Linked DNA regions of Homo sapiens: region 1 is linked to region 2. Evidence: promoter capture Hi-C in human tissues and cell types (Jung and others, 2019). All regions are on one chromosome and are shown on one strand. The core of a region is centred on a gene start or on the middle of the fragment in contact, and the rest is flanking DNA. Distances in the headings are between cores, read along the strand shown.

The links. Contacts are between HindIII fragments. The study calls those that stand out against the background at their distance.
Region 1: a contact is called between a fragment that was not itself captured here and the fragment with the promoter of MAPK8IP1 in region 2, in 1 of the 25 tissues and cell types used here (spleen).

Annotation. Positions count from the first base shown.
Region 1 is chr11:46,502,791-46,507,482 of GRCh38, reverse strand. The region is part of intron 9 of AMBRA1 (autophagy and beclin 1 regulator 1); the gene reads left to right. Among named protein-coding and RNA genes, the nearest start is that of MIR3160-1, 53 kb to the right of the region's middle. The HindIII fragment of the contact is 3,452 bases long and covers 297-3,748 here.
Region 2 is chr11:45,882,512-45,887,604 of GRCh38, reverse strand. It overlaps MAPK8IP1 (mitogen-activated protein kinase 8 interacting protein 1), which reads right to left and starts at 1,954. Exons shown (of 12, transcript NM_005456.4): 1 at 1,684-1,954. The coding sequence starts at 1,784. CRY2 (cryptochrome circadian regulator 2) reads right to left here. Exons shown (of 12, transcript NM_021117.5): 12 at 4,361-5,093. RefSeq lists a silencer at 1,693-2,092. The HindIII fragment of the contact is 16,221 bases long and covers 1-5,093 here.

The DNA.
Region 1 (4,692 bases), core at 773-3,272, 620 kb before region 2:
TTTTGAGACGGAGTCTCGCTCTTTCGCTCAGGCTGGAGTGCAGTGGCGCTATCTCGGCTCACTGCAAGCTCCGCCTCCCGAGTTCACGCCATTCTCCTGCCTCAGCCTCCTGAGTAGCTGGGACTACAGGCGCCCGCCACCGCGCCTGGCTAATTTTTTGTATTTTTAGTAGAGATGGGGTTTCACCATGTTAGCCAGGGTGGTCTTGATCTCCTGACCTCGTGATCTGCCCGCCTTGGCCTCCCAAAGTGCTGGGATTACAGGCGTGACCCACCGTGCCAAGCCTTTTTTTTTTTTTTTTTTTTTGAGACGGAGTCTTGCTGTGTTGCCTAGGCTGCAGTGCAGTGGCACAATCTCGGCTCACTGCAAGCTCCGCCTCCCAGGTTCATGCCATTCTCTTGCCTCAGCCTCCGGAGTAGCTGGGACTACAGGCGCCTGCCACCACGCCCGGCTAATTTTTTTTTTTTTTTTTTGTATTTTTAGTAGAGATGGGGTTTCACTTTGTTAGCCAGGATGGTCTCCATCTCTTGACCTTGTGATCCGCCTGCCTTGGCCTCCCAAAGTGCTGGGATAATAGGTGTGAGCAACCACGCCCAGCCTAAGCTAGCCAATCTTATTGCTGGGTTTTGCATTCTCTCATCTGCTGCTTCTGACCTTTCTAGCCATTCATTGTGTTTCTTTCCATCCTGAAACTGAGCTTTTATGGCCTGTATCAAATTGAACATTTGGCTCATTTTGATTCCTTATATTTTGGTATTGTCAAACATAAAAGCAAGAGAGAGAGAAGGGCGGTTAAGCATTATTTCTTCCTCCTTCTTCACTGGCATTTGTGAAAGAGGACAGCCTGTCAGTCATTTCCTCCCCACCTTCCATCTTGACATAGCCGGGTCAGGTCTGGGGCCTTAAGAGTTCTCATCTCCCCCTCAGCTTTCTTCCTTAACTGAATGGCTAGTTCCTCACAAGTCATCTTGCAACAAAGCTTTTTAGTGTGTTTAAGAAATCTCTTTGCCAGAAAGGACTAGGAAAGTGAGAACAACCTTTGTACCAATTTGCCTTCCTGATGCTGTCATTAAACACACTACTAGCATTTGTGCTCTTAGAAGCAAAAGGAAAACTAAGTGGGAGGTTTATTTGTCTGAGAAAGATGTAAATGTGAAAGAAATGCAGGGATGGCCTGAAGTAGCAGTGGTGTGGCAAATGGAGCAGAGGTCATGGTTCTCTCTTGTCAACTGCAGGAGAAGAGCAGAGCTACCTTCTGACTGTCAGCTTGTTCCTTCTCCCTTCTGTCCACTCTAGGGTGAGGTGGATGCGTATATCAGCAGTGAAGGAAATGGAGTGTTTGTTCCCTTAGCCAGGCAGATACTTACAGTGAAATATGTTCTCCTGTAGATACGGTTTTTCCAGCACCAGGGTCTATTCAGGGAAGCAGTTGAAACATACATGCCAAGGCTGCTGGCACTTAGTGCTGCTGAAAAGCCTGGGTGACTTTCTCTCACTAATGCTGTGGAGCCCTGGGAGTCAGTGTTGTGGATTGCCTAGCCCTCTTTCCATGCACGCCTGGGAGACTGCGTTATCTTTTTGCAGTGGTGAAATGTGGGGCTCATGCCTTCAAGCTGTATCTTGCCTCGTGACTTGTCCTTCACAAGGGAGTTCTGGGTTAGTTTAAAATGTTCTGTTCTTGTCTTACCTTCCCTTTCTCCTGCTACCACCTCCTCTCTCTCTCCCCTTCCTTCCCCCTCGATTTTCCTGTGTCAGACTGCCTCCTCCTTATGCTCCCCCCAGCCCACCTGTGCGCTCTCCCCCACCCCCTCCCCTGGCTTTAGCATGACCTGAATTTACATTTCCTTCTTCACCTTTCATGCACTGACTTACTGTTTTTTCTCAGGGGGTCTTATATTGCTCCCTGGTTAGTAACAATGGACTGATTTCTCTCATACTCCTTGGAAAGTCCCTTCTGGGGTGTTTGCCTTTCTTTTTGGGCTGATGTAGACTAGAATCTTGTTTTTAATAGCAGCTGTGGATTAGTCACCTCAACATTAGTAGTCCAGGTCTTCTAGTAAAGGATGTTACTGGCTGGTTGAAACTGACTGTTTATTCTTTCTCTGTCTCCTTCCCTGCCCACCTCCCTCTACAGTAAACTGAATGCTGCTTGTGGTTGCTCCTGTCCTCTGAGTGTCCACGTGCTCTGTGAGGAGGGAGAATAACAAAGAAGGAATGTACCAGCACATTTTAATTTTTCTGCCCCAATCTTTTGCCTTAGCTTTGGTAACTAGAAGGAAAGTCAGAGGCATGTGCAGTCACGATTTATATTTTTTTCAGGTACAGAGAGACATGTAAGGTAGATATGGCGAGTAATCCTCCTAACAATTAGGTTACCATTAAGACAGTTGTTCCTTTGTTTGGTATCCTCACCTTCTCAGCACTTCATGCTCTTGCCTTTGCTACCTCACTTTGATGACCTCTCCCTCTGTTTGCTAAGTCATAGATCATTTTGCCATTTTTGGGCTTGTCACATCCAGTTGTATAGTGTTCTCAGAAAACCAAGGGAGCCATTACTCAGAGCCCATCTTTTGTGGTTCTCTTCCATTTGACCAAATCAGATATGTCTAAGGTTAGAGGACAGGAGCAAGCATATTTAGTGTCTGAGTTTTATTGTCCTGCTGATTTAAAAACCTTTGAAAATGATGTACCACCATTTTTGAGCCTTTCCAAGAGCTTGCTGTGGAGCAAGACCATTGAGATTTATCTCTTGGGAGGGTGGCTTTGGAGGTTGGTCAGCATCAGGTTAAATTTTCTGTTCTTTTGTGATCTAGATGAATGACCATCTTCCTGGGCAGGCTTCCTCTCCTGCCATTCATCTCTGTCTACAGCAAGGATTGAGACTGCAGGGTCCTTGTGTTTATCAAACTGCACAAACAGGACATCCAGAAACCTGCTGTCAGCAGGTCTCTCCTGAAGCTCTCAGCAGCTGCCTTTGCATAAAGATGTTCATAAGCAGGGTAAAGGTGTGGCTGCCCATGACATTGCTGTCTGTCTGCTTTCAAGCCCAGACCACCTACTAGAATGGAGATGGCAAATAAGCGTAAGGCAGACTTCCATTTTCATGTTTGCCATCCCTTTGGAAAGAGGGAGGGGGCTTTTATAAAGCCCAGGTTAAGTGCTATGGCCCGTAGTTGCTAAGGCCTACAAAAGAGGTGGTGTGTATGCTTTATGACAATTATTCCAGCTATGCTTGCCCCCTTACTCATTTTATCTGTTAATCTAAATGTAATTATAATTCCAGAATCCTCCCTAGCCCATATTCCTGCCCTTCCTGCCTCTTTTTATAGCTGCTTTGCTTTCTGAGGCAAAGGGATACTGTAGCAAAGGCTTTGCTAATGACAGTCAGACTAGAGAAGCTTCAGATTAGATCAGTCGCAAATATCTGCATCGTATATACTAGCCACTGGATAATTACATTCAGCTTCTTGAAAACTGTTGCTAGAGCCGGGTGTGGCAGCTCACACCTGTAATCTCAGCACTTTGGGAGGTTGAAGCAAGAGGATTGCTTGAGCCCAGGAGTTCGAGACCAGCCTGGGCAACATAGTGAGATCCCCATATGTATTAAACAAATAAAAGACTGTTGCTGGCACAGAAGTCTCTTATTCACAATTTTGACACACGGGCTGTACTTTGGATTTCTGCCTGGAAAAAACATCTCAATGAGAATTCTAGTCTTTTAGCCTTAAGATGAATTCTCTTTAGGTCTGTTAATTTATTTTCTTAACTATTCTAATTAATTTGCTTATATTTGGGTCCTCTTTTCCCAGAAGTCCACATTGTGACCAAATACAGGCACACTTTGTTTTATTGTGCTTGGCTTTTTTTGCGCTTTGCAGGTATTGTGTTTTTCACAAATTGAAGGTTTGTGGCAACCCGACATTGAGCAGTTGGCACCATTTTTCCAACAGCATGTGCTCATTTTGTGTCTGTCTGTCACACTGGTAATTCTTGCAGTATTTCAGATGTTTTCATTATTATTAGATCTGTTATGGTGACCTGTGATCAATTGTAATTGTTTTGGGGCACTGTGAACCACAATCATATAAGACAATAAGCTTAATTGTAAATGTTGTATATATTTTGACTGCTCCACTCACTGGCGATTCCCCCATCTCTCTTCCTCTTCTTGGGCCTTCCTATTCCCTGATACACAGCAATATTGAAATTAGGCCATTTAATATCCCTATAGTGACCTCTGTATGTTCAAGAAAAAGGAAGAGTTGCACATCTCTCACTTTATGTCAAAAGCTACAAATGATTAGTGAGCAAGACATGTTGAAACTTGAGATAGGCCAGAAGCTAGTCCTCTTCTGCTATAAACAGCCAAGTTGTGAACACAAAGCAAAAATTCATTTTTTTTTTTTTTTTTTTTTTTTTTTTGAGACAGAGTCTCGCTCTGTCACCCAGGCTGGAGTGCAGCGGCACAATCTCGGCTCACTGCATGCTCCGCCTCCCAGGTTCATGCCATTCTCCTGCCTCAGCCTCCTGAGTAGCTGAGACTACAGGTGCCTGCCACCACGCCCAGCTAATTTTTTTGTATTTTAGGTAGAGATGGGGTTTCACCGTGTTAGCCAGGATGGTCTTGAACTCCTGACCTCGTGATCTGCCCACTTCGGCCTCCCAAAGTGCTGGGATTACAGGCGTGAGCCA
Region 2 (5,093 bases), core at 705-3,204:
CCCACTGGGCCAGAGGCAGGGCTGGGACGTAGAGTGGACTAAACACGCACAGACCTGGGTCCCAGTGTAGCCTTAGTCTCTGACTCTTTTGTAGTCTCCAGATGAGCCACCCTGCCTTTGTTAATCTCAATCACCTCATCTATAAAATGGGCAGGTCACTACCCTCTCTTGGGGCAGTTATGAGGGTTAAAGGAGGGGCCTTGGGAAGACACTCTGGACAGCAGCGAGCCGTAGTGTTGTCTGCTAGTGTGGGGGCTGACACTTGTTGAACACTGACCTGATGTGCTTTTTCTCCTTTCCAGGCAAGAATCAATATTAATTAGCCCACTTAACAGATGGCACCCAGAGAGGACAAAAACCTGCCTGGGTCATGCAGTTAGAAAGTAGTGGAGCTAGGATTTGAACCCAGGTCCCTCTAAGCCCCATGTGCTTCCACTGCAGAGGCCTCCAGGTGGGGAGGCAGTATTTGCATGGAGGCCTCATGCACCATGCCAGGTGGAGTCTCAGACCTCAGTCTAAGGCATTATCAGAGAGCTGCAGCCCTGGAGCCTTCAGGCCTGGCCTCCTCCATCTGGCCCCCTCTGGTCCTTCCAGCTCAGCTCAGGGCCTCAGGGAAGGTTTCTGAGTTTGATGATGCTATTAGAGATCCCCAGGGGTCTCTGCCCACCTGAGGACCTGGGAGCCAGTGACCCCTTGCTCCCAGGAGGGGCTGGCACCACAGCCCAGCTGGAGCCTGGCTGGGGTGGTGCCCCAGGAGAGGGGAAGGCGCCAGTTCTCGAGATGGGGAAACAATGGGGTATGTCTAAGCCTCCCTCTCTAGGCCGGGAGCAGTGACTTCGGCCTCTTCCTCCCCACCAACTAGGGTTCAGAATTATGGGGGAGGTACATCTATTCCTCCTCCACACAACACTCACCCCTCACTTCTCTGAAATGCATCGGGCCTAACACCAGATTGGGGGGTGGGGGTGGTGGAATAGGAGCTCAGGTCAGGGTTCTGGGTATTTACCCCAGCAGGGATCCCCTCGACACCCTCGCTGGCCCTGGCTACTCCAGAGCCGAGCCGACTTCCCTTCCCGCAGCCGGGCCTAGGATTCCCCTGGTTGAGGCTGAGCCTTCAGCGCCTGCCCTGAGAGACACACCTGCCTAGGTCGGTGCTGCCCAATCCAGAGAGGGGCCCGGCCACGCCAGGCCTGGCAGGTAGGCCCATCTGGCCAGGCAGGGCTCGGGGAGGGGCTCAAACATCCTCCTCCCAGCACCAACAATGTCGTTGCCCCAGGAAACTGCGACCCGCGCCCCTCCAGGCTGTTCCCAGCTCTATTCACAGGCTAAGATGCAGCCTGCCTGCCCGCTCCGGGATCGCAACCCCGACCCCAGACCCTGCCGCAGCCCGGAGGTTGGGGAGAAGGAGGCCTCCGAGCCCCCTCCTCCAATTCCAGCGCAGACCTCCCAGCCTAGGACCAGGAATGGCGGAGGGAACAGCCTCGTGAACATGCAACGGCTACCAGTCCGGACTTGAGGCTGGCGGGGCTTCTGAGGGGGGCTCTGTCCCGGGAAGAGACCCCACTCCCACGCAGCCCTTTCGTTCCCGGGTTCCCGAGGTTCTGGGGTGGGGGGCGGGCAGGGCAGCCAATGCGGATCAGTCCCCGCTGAAGGGCGAGGCGCGCGGCGGCCGGGGACTCTCACCTGAAATTGGGAGGCGAAGCGATGTGCAGCCCCAGGAACGGGGAGGCGGCGGGCGGGGACGCGGCCCCCCCTCCCAGGCCGCCGCTTTCTCGCTCCGCCATTCTCGGGCACAGCCCTGGCCATCCGGGCGGAGCGCGGCGCGGAGGAGGCGGCGGCTGCGAAGGAGGCGGAGGCGCGGCGAGAGGGCAGCCGCCGCCGCGGAGTTCGGGCTAGGCGGGCGCACCTGTGTCTGGCAGGGCGCGGCACAGCACCGCGCACGGCCCGCGGGACTGGCGAGAGCGCCCCGCGCGCGCCCCCGGGACCCGGCCGGGGTCTCGCGCGCCCCGCCCAGGCCCCGCCCCCACCCCGCCAGCCCCGCCCCCGGAGATGGCGCTCTCCGCGGTGCTGAAGCCACGGCCCCCGCGGCCCTGGGCTTGGTTCAGCCCCGCCCTAAATCCGACATCGACTCTCCTCCACCCCGTGGCCGGTGTGGGCTTTGTCCCTCCGGTTGGGCTTAGTGCCCGGGTATCAGATGACTAATGGCAGGACACTGGACCCCAAGGTCCAGGTTGGCCCCCCGCAGCAGAGACCAAGAAGGCAGGCGGAAAAGGAGGGTCGTGGAGGAAGGCAGAGAAAGGAGAGGATGTCAGTGGGCTCTTAAAGTGTACAGGTTTGGAGTCAGGTGGTGTGAATTCACTGGCTCCACAAGTGACTGGGCAGTGGGGCCTTGCATTAGTGACTTCAGAGCACTAAGGTTTGGTCTTCTTATCTGTGAAATGGGACAATAGCAGTCCCTCTCATGGTTGTTGTGAGAATGTAACGTAACACAAATGTGTTGCCTGAGACCCAGAAACACTCCACCTCCTGCGCTGGGATCCAGCCCTCACCCCAGTCCTGTCCCTTTACCTTGAGGGGACCCTCCCAAAGACTCTCCCTAGAGGCTGTCTTCTCTAAAGATTGACCCAAATCTCTCTTCAGCCCCAAACAGCTACTCGTGGTGAATTGAGCCCTCCAGGCTTCTCGGTCTCTCGCCAGGACCTTCCCAGCATTCTCCTTCTTAGCGCCTCAACTGCATTTCCTGCAGAGCACCCCTCTTCTGCACCCACAGACACACATTCTAAGACTTGGCGCCTTTCCCTCTCCTCCCACTGTTGACTTCTTGGGATCATTTTGGTTGTTTCTGTTCCCTCTGGCACCTCCATCCCTGCTAGGCTTTGGCCATGGCTTCTTCCTCATTGTCTCTCCCTCGAGAGGGTGTTATTCCTGGGCTTCCAGGCCTTCAAGTCCCTGAGTTTCCCGATTGAGTTATTTCAGAGTACGGACTGCCAAGGCTAGGGCCTTAGCTTTGCTGGGTCGTAGAGCCTCTGGTCAAACCTCATTGGCTTCTCTGGTCTCTCGAGAGAACCCTAGAGACCCTGTCCACAGGGCAGAAAACGTGCAGAGCAAACTGTGCCACAACTCGTGGAGTCCTATTTGCAAATCTGGACTGCCGACCAGTCATGCTGGCCCCTTTCCTTCAGTGCGGCACCTAGCAAGGAGCTGGAGGCACCTTCCGTGCAGAAGGCAACCTCCGACCACCAGCCCTGAGAATATCCCAATACCTAGAGCCAAAGGTCATGGCTGCTTCTCTTTTCCCTGTCCCTGGGGCCCAGAGGGGTGGCCACTACTTTCTCAGCTTTCGTGATCAGGCCCCTTTCACTGGGCCCTCACGGTAATCATCTGCTGCCATGGTGCCTGGCTTTTCCTCTCAGGAAAGCAGTCTTGCCATCATGGCTACTAATCGTTCCTTAGAATGTAGACCTGCCTCAGCTAGGGAACATCCTTAGCAGGTCAGGGGTGGATGTAAAGGACAACTCCCTCTTCCAGAACCTTTTGCTCAAGAGCAAAGTTATCTTAGCTCCAAAGACCAACCCAAAGCCATTATTAGAGAGAAGCCAGAAGGGCAAGAAGGAAAGGCAGGCCCAGGTCTTGGTATGAGGGAGGCCAGCAGGAGCTTCAGAGCAGAGCCAAGAATGAGACAAGTTCCCAAGGCAGGTTCCTCCCCTTTTCTCCTTCTTCACTCTGTGCAGGCCAGACTGTGATATTCTTGGGCCTTGCCTGGGCCCCTTCCCAGAAAGTTGGGGTGTGAGCTAATAAAGCTTTCAGTCCAAGGCTAGCATCCCCTAGCATGGAAGCAGGGCACACTGCACAGAGAGGGGCCATTCTCTGGCCAGGAGACAAAGCCAGCATCCAGGCGCCCTAGGCTTGGCTGTGGGCAGATCTCAACCACCTAGTCACAGCCAGAGAGCCTGCATCCCCTCCTCACCACAGGCTGCAGCTTAAGTGGCTGCATTGAATTAAAGGATGGATTGAGGGCGTGGAGCAGGCCCTGCACTGACTGACCCCCAGCCTGGGAGGGGGTTTAAGTGGGCTGCAAGGCTGGGTGGCACTGCAGGATGGCACTTAGGACCCTCACTCTGGGCCAGAGTGCTCTGTACTATTTTGGCCAATTGACCCCCAACTCTTGACCAAGCTCTGGACCAACTCTTGACCAAGCTGCTCCAGTCTGCTCTGGCTGCTCCCCCTTCCTAAGGAGGAATAGGAGGCTCCTGACTCCCACAGAACCAAGATGGGGTGGCCGACAGCTTCATTCAGGCTCAGGCTTACCAAAACCCTGGTTCCCAGGCCTCCCACAAGATTGACGACAGCACAAACTTACTCAAGACAGGTCAGACATTTATAAAACAAGTGAATATTCACAAACAAATTGTGGGAGAAACACACCTTCCCAGCAATAGAAAATCTCTATAAAGTGCATTTTGCCTGCAACCATCTCTTCCCCATGCTGGCCCTTGGGTCAGGATTTGAGGCACTGTTCCGAGGGAGCCCTCAGGGCCACCTGAGCTGGGAGAAGGGAGGCATGAAGCCACCATGGAGCTCCAGGCTACTGGACATACCCTCTCTACCCTGCCCTTCCCTCTTGGCTCCAGGAGTGCACTGCCTGACTCCACTGGCAGGTTGATCTGGGAACGGGCTGACATGCTAGGGATGGTGGAGAAGTAGGCGGAGGTGGTCCTGCCAACCTGTACCTTAGGGAAGAGAGCCAGCAGCAGACAGGCAGGAAAAGGAATCATCCTGCTACCCGAAGGCGCTGCTAGTGAATACTAAATCTGGGCCTCGGCCTTTGGCCTTCCCACTCTCAGATTTGCCCTTCCAGGTTTGCTTGACTCTCTTTCTGGCAGTGGCCCGATTCTCTTTCCTCTCGACTGGGGCTGAGGGAACAGGGAAGCCCCCAACCCAATGCTCTGAATGCACACCATCCCCTGTGCCCTGCTCCCCTCCCACGATGATGGGACATTTCTAGTGAAGGTGACATACGTACAACAGTTGGACTCTAAAGGCAGCTCTCTGGCTGAGAAAACCTGAGGATATCTCAGGAAGAAGCCTGTCAG